Linked DNA regions of Homo sapiens: all the other regions are linked to region 2. Evidence: promoter capture Hi-C in human tissues and cell types (Jung and others, 2019). All regions are on one chromosome and are shown on one strand. The core of a region is centred on a gene start or on the middle of the fragment in contact, and the rest is flanking DNA. Distances in the headings are between cores, read along the strand shown. Region 1 overlaps TRIP12 (thyroid hormone receptor interactor 12). Region 2 holds the start of SLC16A14 (solute carrier family 16 member 14). Region 3 overlaps TRIP12 (thyroid hormone receptor interactor 12).

Region 1 (2,804 bases), core at 54-2,553, 150 kb after region 2:
GCTAGACATTCTGTATTTAGATTAGGCTCCACAGATGAATTGGAACACAAGGCCCTTTCTCCACTTGTTTACAGTACTGTGGACCATTGCCTCATTTGTTAAAACTCTTTTAACTCGAACATACCTCTGTTATATGCATAGGTATCCTACTTGAAACATTTGACCCAGTGGCTCATGCCTGTAATTCCAGAACTTTGGGAGGCTGAGGCAGGAGGATCACTTGAGCCCAGGAGTTTGAGACTAGCCTGAGCAACTTAGTAGAGACCTTGTTGCTACTAAAAGTAAAAAATTAGCTGGGCATGGTGGCACATGCCTGTAGTCTTCAGCTACCTGGGAGGCTGAGGTGAGAGGATTGCTTGAGCCTGGGAGATGGAAGCTGTGCTGAGCTGTAATTGTGCCACTGCACTCCAGCCTGGGTGACCGTGAGACCCTGTCTCAAAAAATTTTTTTTTTTTTTTAGTATACAATAGTATTCCTTAGTTGATTATGAATTCTTTAAAGTCTTTAGCCCTCACCCTTTTTTTAACTTTTATAAGGACACTAATCCCAAGTAGTGTCCCTTTTTATCTCTGCATCTAGCACAGTAGCTGGCCCATGATAGGGATTAAGCGTTTGTTGACAGAATAAGTCTTGTGAAAATAAAATAAGATACTGTAAGTGGAAATATTTTGTAATGGCTTAATGTCCTATTTTTAAAATTTTGATTCTTATTTTGCATCGTTAATGCTAAAATGACTTTGAGACTTTTAGTCAGTATATATTTTGGAGACTGCAAGTTACTTTAAATCATACATTTTAAAAAGAATTAGGGCAAGCCATTTTGTTACTCTTTAATTGACCATTATGTGCATGTAATAGTTGATAAAGTACATTGAGGACCTAAATAAGTTTTTTTTTTGAGATTGAGTTTCGCTGTGTTGTCCAGATTGGAGTGCAGTGGCGCAATCTTGGCTCACTTGTAACCTCTGCCTCCCGGGTTCAAGCAATCCTCCTGCCTCAGCCTCCCGAGTAGCCGGGATACAGGTGCCTGCCACCACACCCAGCTAATTTTTTGTATTTTTAGTAGAGACAGGTTTCACTCTGTTGGCCAGGCTGGTCTTGAACTCCTGACCTCACGTGATACACCCGCCTTGGTCTCCCAAAGTGCTGGTATTACAAGAATGAACCACTGTGCCTGGCCAATATGTTTTAATGCAGTGCTAAATGATTAGTGTTTCCAATTTATAATAGTATACATCATTGTAGTTTATTCTGTTTGTTTCTTTTTAGAGAGCATGTACATATTTCTATAAATATGGTGTTATTACCCATACATGGATTTTTGAAGGCTATTTATAAGCCTAAGTGTCCATCAACAAGCCTTCAAGACTTGAAGTTACAGCATTTCAGTGTGTATTTTAATCAACTTGTTGGCTGTCATAACCAATGAGTTCTACCCTGACTTCAAAACTCCTACTCACTCTAGCCGTGGGCAGTGCTCTGAATAAATAGATGTACCTTGTGCTGTGTTCTTAAGGTCAGATGAACTTAATTTAAAGATTTTATACTGGTAAACATGTGCGATGCCCTGGAAACCTAAAGTGAGTTTTCACAGTAGCCCATCTCTTGAAATTCTCTCTTCAGTTGTAATTTAAGCTACTTTGTGTCCTTAGAGAGCAGGTTCATAGAGATCATATGAATGTCCCCTACTTTTTTTGATTCTCAAAAACCAAGTGCTTCTAGTAGCCTTGTAAATAGGAAATATATGCAAATGCTGTCAACTTCTCAGACCCCAGTGTTTCGTAATTCTGTTTTACATCCTTGGCTGCAATCAGATTGAACTGTTTCTTCCTCTCTGAACACACCCAGCAACTTTTTAGCATTTTTGCTTTGGTTTTTTGTCTACTTGAATTGACACCCCCTCTCACATCTTGTATCTATTATTTTTATTATTATTTTTATTTTTTGAGGCAGAGTTTTGCTTTGCCGCCCAGGCTGGAGTGCAGTGGTGCGATCCCGACTCACTGCAGCCTCCACCTCCACCTCCTTGGTTCAAGCGATTCCCTGCCTCAGCCTCCTGAGTAGCTGGGATTGTAGACTGGTCTCCAACTCCTGACCTCAGGCAATCCACCCACCTCGGCTTCCCAAAGTGCTGGGATTACAAGTGTGAGCCACCGCGCCTGGCCTGTATCTCTTAGAAATATATATACTTACACTTAACTTTCTTCCAGTGACTCCTTTAAAATTTTTACTCCTTACTCTCCTATTCTCCTTCTGTAACATATTTCAGGATGACTTTCACGTTCTGTCTTACATAATTAGTTGTTTACATTTTAACTTAACTGGGTTTTTGGCCTCTTCAAGGTAGAGATCTCATTCTTTTATCTTCACAGTGTCTAGCACAAGGCTTCCAACATAATGCATTGTACATGGTAGGTGTACGTGGTAGTGTGTTCTGGTGTGACACATTGAGAAACGATGTTGTGAAATAATATTAGCATCGTTTGCCATAATTTACTTGCTTGTTTTCATTTTTCAGGGGTTGGCAGCTGAGTGTAGAATATAAATTTTTCAAAATTAGGCTCATTAAAATCAGCTACTTAAGGAATTGTTAAGACCCTAGAATATTTTAGTTAGTTGGTTACCCCAAATTTAGCATTTGGAGATGATGTTTATTAGTAGATGATGATTTATTTATCAATACATATTTATCAAGTGCTTACTGTGTGCCACAATTGTGCTTGACAGAATATAAAAGGGACCTGAAACTTATTCCTTGTCTTCCAAGTTCTGTTATGTTTCATATAGTTGATATTTATCTTATT
Region 2 (2,700 bases), core at 100-2,599:
AAGTCAAAAAAATTAGCCAGGCATGGTGGCGTGTGCCTGTAGTCCCAGCTACTCAGGAGGCTGAGGTGGGAGGATCACCTGAGCCCAGGAGGTTGAGGCTGCAATGAGCTGTGATCATGCTACTGCACTCCAGCTTGGGTGACCGAGGAAGGCAATGTGAAATACATGTGAATTTTTTTTCAAAGAAACGAAAAAGAAGGAAGAAAAGAAAAAGGAAAAGAAGAAAGAAGGAAATCTGTGGTAGGCAGAATAATGGTCTCCCAAAGATGTCCACATCCTAATCCCTGGAACATGTGAATTTGTTACCTTACATGGCAAGAGGGGAATTAAGGTTGCAGATGGAATTAAGGTTGCTAATCAGCTGACCTTAAAATAGAGAGATTATCTGGATTATCTCATTGGACTCAATGTAATCCCCAGGGTCCTTAAAAGTGGACAGGGGTGGGGGCAGAAAAGGGGAGACAAGGCAATGTGAGTATGGAAAGAAGACAAAATGACGCAGCAGTGCTGGCTTTGAAGATGGAGGAAGAGCCACCAGCCAAGGAATGTGGGCGGCCTGCAGAAGCTGGTGGCTCTCCCCTACAGCCACGAGAAGGAACACAGCCTTCAAGGTGGCCAACACCATGATCTCAGCCTAGTATGACCCATTTCAAACTTCCGACCTCCAGAACTGTAAAATAGTGAATTTGTGTGGTTTTCCTCTGCTATTACTGTGGCAGTTTATCACAACAGCAGCAGAGAATTACTGCAAAACCTTCAGGCGGGAAAAAACAGCACAGGCTTCATCGACTCACACATTCACTTCAATAATACAGAAAACTGTCCAAGGCAAAGCACTATGTTGTGTGCCCTGCTGGGAATGAGGTAGGGAGGTATTGAGATGAAAGTTGTGCCTGGTGCCCACGAAGGTAGGTAATGGACGTGCAGAAAGAGCAGGGAGAGGTGGGACCCAGGGTGGAAACAAGAATGAGGGACTGGCCGGTCACGGTGGCTCAGCTTGTGATCCCAGCACTTTGGAGGCCAAGGCCAGAGGATTCCTTGAGTCCAAGTGTTCGAGACCAGCCTGGCAATATAGTGAAACCCGTGTCTCTAAAAGAGAGAGAATAAGGGACTTTGAGTCCTCTTTGGCCAAAAATATTTCAGTGAGGGTCTGTTTCATCCCTTCTCTCCCATCTCAGAGAAATGGAGGCTACTGCTAGTCTCACTTGCATCCTGGATTAGATTTCAGGACCTTTCCGCCAGTGATAAATGTGCAGCGCCTTAGCGGAACCTCAGCCAAAGCTATAAACTTCAACCGGCCACAAGAGTGTGCATGTGAGGTGACTGCATTTTTTTTCCCTGCCAAACCAGAATTAGCCGGTATAGGAATGAACGAGCATGAAGATTTGAAATTGCTCCGATTGGAAGGAAGCCCAGGTTAGGTTTGGGCACCTCCAAACGCACCCGTTTTAAAGCCACCTGGACTGAGGCGTCGAGCTTTCAGCTCCACCAAACGCTCACCTGGCCTGGCAGCGAGCGGCGGAAGAGCCCGGGAGCCCCTCACAGAGCGCACCGAGCCGGGCGGAGAGCTGAGCCGCAGGCACCCGCGTCTCCAGGATGATAGGCGACATTGCAACAAATCTCTACACCCAGCAGCTCAGGGGGCTCCAAGCAGAGCAGCAAGTTCGAGGATCCGGGCGTGGAGCCGAGTGAGGCCGCAGCCCAGCGGGCCTCGGGCGGTGAGTATCCGAGGCCGCGCGCGCCGCGGGCCTGGGGAATGGAGCGACGCCGGGGGCATCGGAGCCTAGGTTTCAGATGGCCGCTGCACCCCCAGGGACCCCCGGGAAGGGGCAGCCCCAGCCCAAGGCAGGCTCGGGAAAGGCTGCCCGGGCGGTGGAGGGCGAGACTGTGCCGGGGCAGGTGGTAGTGCCAAGGCCGCCGCGGGGGCTTGGGAGCTGCGGGCGGGCAGGGTAACCGGCGGTTCAGGGCAGACCGCCAGGCGGAGCTTGGGGACGCGCGCCTTGCTGCTCAAGCTGGCCGGGGCCCCGCGAGCGTCATCCTGGGCACCCCCGTCCGGCTGGAGAAGCGCGTTCTGCCCGGAGCCCAGCCTCGCTGCCCGGCTGCTCTCTAGGCCCGTTTGGGACTCGAACTGGACAGTGATGAGGCGCAGAGCGGGGGACCCGGGGCTGCGCCTAGGGACTTCGCGGGGTGCGGATGCCTCTCTGCACAGGCTGTGGTGCTGCAGCCGGCCCAGCTTCCCCGGTGGGCTGCTGGCTTCCGAACGCGCCGAGGGATGCGGGGTGCCCGAAGTGGGGATGTGGTCTCGGGGTGCCAAGGGAGCGGGAGCACCGAGCGCGGGTGGGGGCGGGCGCTCGAAGGGTGGGGCGCGAGGCCGGACCCCGCGGGCACGATCCCGCACCCAGGGCGCGCAGAGGCTGGGCCCCCTTAGCGCTTCCGATTGAGGCTCCTCAAGAGAGGCTGAAATGGGGTGAGAGACCGGGGACGGCCATTTCGGGGCTAAACGCTGCCAAGGCCATGACGATGTTTTAGGAGCTGAACTCTGCTTTCCAATTAAGCCATTTTCTTTCTGAGGAAAAGTTGATTCGGGCTCATTAACAAGGATGACTGAGGGCCATTATTGGGGCTTAGAGAGATTCTCCTTTGCCTTGTCTGGCTTCTTTGTTTGCATGTGCGTGCGTGTGCGGCTGTGTGTGTGTGTGT
Region 3 (2,700 bases), core at 117-2,616, 240 kb after region 2:
ACTACTTAAATTAGCCAGAGGCTTGGCTGGTTTAAGTCTTCTAATTTTGTAAAACATACAAAACTAGTAGTTTTTTTGTTTTTTTTTTGTTTTGTTTTGGTAAAACCAAACTAATTTTGTAAAACATATACAAAAATAGTTTTTATATATGTTTTACAAAATTAGATAACTCATAACTCATATCTAAACTCCCACTTTAGATAACCTAAACTACTTCATAAAAGGGAACAAAAGCTTAATACTTGCTATCAGAGGTATGGCAAAAGAATCCTTTTCTTCACAATTAGTTTCCAATTTCTGTCAAAACCAGCACCCTACCCTCTACTGATAATCAGACTTCTGGCAGTAGCTCACACCTGTAACTCCAACATTCAGAGGCCGAGGCAGGTGGATCACTTGAGTTCAGGAGTCTGAGATCAGCCTGGGCAACATGGTGAAACCCTGTCTCTACAAAAAAATACAAAACTTAGCCAGACTTGGTGGCATGTACCTGTGGTACCAGCTACTCAGGAGGCGGAGGCAGGAGGATCGCTTGAGCCCTGGAGGCGGAAGTTGCAGTGAGCTGTAAATTGCACCATTGCACTTCAGCTTGGGCAAGAGAGCAAGACCCTGTCTCAAAAAAATAAAAATAAAAAAGATTCTGTGGCTCCCCAAAGGTTGGGACCCTGCTATAATAGAACCTTAGCATCTCTTTTAATTATGTTCTTCTATAGGTTTTATGTTTTGATTAATTGATGTCTTTGTGGCAGTGCAGTTTGAGATATTCATTATGAAAGTCGTTAGAATAAAATATTTAAGAAGTAATGTTAGGTAGAAACCTTTAATGGTTGTAGGTCTGGAGAACATTTTAAAGTAAAATCAAGTAGATTCTCTGATAAATAAACTTAAAAACCCAGCAGTACTCTAACAGGTTAGATTTCTGTGTGTTTGTTTTTTAATGTATGGGCTCCAGAGTGTGTTTTAAAAAATACCCACTATTTCATTTGTTAAAACTCGGTATTTGCTTCCTACATAGATGGAATAGTCTTAAGATAAGTTTAAGAGCCATTTCAGTTATTATTGTACCTAGTAACAGTATTCGTTAACAGCATTTCTGTATAATGTGAAGAAGCAACTGTATTTGAATTAAAAATCACTGCTAAAGAATATATTTGAGTCATACAGTTTCTAAGGGTACAACCTGTGAAGTCAGACTTCCTGAGTTCAGATCTCTCAGCCATAACTAGCTATCTGACCTTGGCCAAGTATGCTCAAAGTCACAAAACCTTAGTTTCCTTATGTGCATGATGATTATAATACCTTTTGTACAGTTATGAGGAAACTTAGACAATGCCTGTGTTGTATGGTAAGCGTTTTCATAAATGCTGCCTACCTGTAAGTAGCATTATAGTGTGTAGTTATTGGTTAATTTCCTTTTTCTTTACCAGAAGTGTGGGTTTTGCCCAGCCTTTATACAACTTCAGTATTTCTGGTTAATCTGTCTCTCTATGGCTCTAAACTTTTCAGAGTGGTGGGGGAGTTACCAACACTTTTGTAAAAGGCCAGATAGTAAATGTTTTATGCTTTATGTAGTCTCTGTTGCAAGTACTCAATTCTGTAATTATAGCGTGAAAGCGGCCACAGACTTGTAAATGAATGAGTACAGCTATGTTCTAATAAAATTTTTATTTACAAAACCATGTGGTGGACTGGATTTGGCCTTTGGGCCATATTTTGCTGACCCTGTTTTAAACCATAAGCTTTTCTAAGAATTTTTTTTTTAATCCCAATAATGAAGTTACATAGAAAATACTTAATGGTGTGTGAAGAGAATGGTAATATGAAAATACAGTCAGTGGCTGGTATTTTGGCATCTTTTTCTTCAGACAAGCTCTTTAAACTCGCATATGTTATTCACACATGCCTCTTTAACAATTATGACAAAAATATTCTTCCTGGCTTGCATTCTGTCACAATCTGTGCAGTATATAGGGCTTAAGGTATTGTGGAAGAGCTTATGTAGATCAATCATCTGTGTTAAAAAAAAAAAAAAACCCAAAAAACAAACAAAAAAAACCTTTGACCTCAGCAGACACATAGAGGCACAATTAACTGCTAGTTTTGCAGGAATATGGTTTTACTTCCTGTTCAGATTTATAATAGACTCTACCTCCATTAGCTTAGACTGTTTTTTTGTCATTGTTGGTCAGGTTAGTATTTCGATTAATAGTATCCTGAGTCTTAACTCTTCATTTCACACTAGTTTTGACACTTTAGTTGCCCTGTCTTTCATACTTCTTGTTTTTGTTTTGAGACAGAGTCTGGCCCTGCCGCTCAGGCTGGAGTGCAGTGGCACGATCACGGCACACTGCAGCCTCTACCTCCTGGGCCCAAGCAGTGCTCTCGACTCAGGCATGCCCAACTCAGTAGCTGGGACTACAAGTCTCACTATATTGCCCGGGTTGGTCTTGAACCCCTGAGCTTAAATGATCCTTCTGCCATGGTCCGCAAAGTGTTGGTATTACAGGAGTGAGCCACCATGCCCAACCTCCTTCATGCTTCATAGCAGTCATCTGTTAGTTGTAATATCTTTTTGCACTCTTGAAGTTAATGAAAACAGATAAATGATTGTATCAAGACTGTAGTCCGGAAATAAAGCAGACTTAGAAGGCAGACGTCTACATACAACATTTCCCCCAAATGTCTATTTTGCCTTTTTAT

Evidence for each region. Contacts are between HindIII fragments. The study calls those that stand out against the background at their distance.
Region 1: a contact is called between a fragment that was not itself captured here and the fragment with the promoter of SLC16A14 in region 2, in 1 of the 25 tissues and cell types used here (bladder).
Region 3: a fragment that was not itself captured here is called in contact with the fragment with the promoter of SLC16A14 in region 2 in 1 of the 25 tissues and cell types used here (adrenal gland).

The regions. Positions count from the first base shown.
Region 1 is chr2:229,913,347-229,916,150 of GRCh38, reverse strand. The region is part of intron 1 of TRIP12 (thyroid hormone receptor interactor 12); the gene reads left to right. Among named protein-coding and RNA genes, the nearest start is that of TRIP12, 7.3 kb to the left of the region's middle. The HindIII fragment of the contact is 7,687 bases long and covers 1-2,804 here.
Region 2 is chr2:230,067,573-230,070,272 of GRCh38, reverse strand. SLC16A14 (solute carrier family 16 member 14) reads left to right here and starts at 1,349. Exons shown (of 5, transcript NM_152527.5): 1 at 1,349-1,718. The region is part of intron 1 of LOC107985995 (a long non-coding RNA gene); the gene reads right to left. RefSeq lists enhancers at 1,286-1,345, 1,356-1,475, 1,871-2,641 and silencers at 1,706-1,975, 2,246-2,495. The HindIII fragment of the contact is 6,778 bases long and covers 1-2,700 here.
Region 3 is chr2:229,831,221-229,833,920 of GRCh38, reverse strand. The region is part of intron 6 of TRIP12 (thyroid hormone receptor interactor 12); the gene reads left to right. Among named protein-coding and RNA genes, the nearest start is that of TRIP12, 89 kb to the left of the region's middle. The HindIII fragment of the contact is 5,189 bases long and covers 1-2,700 here.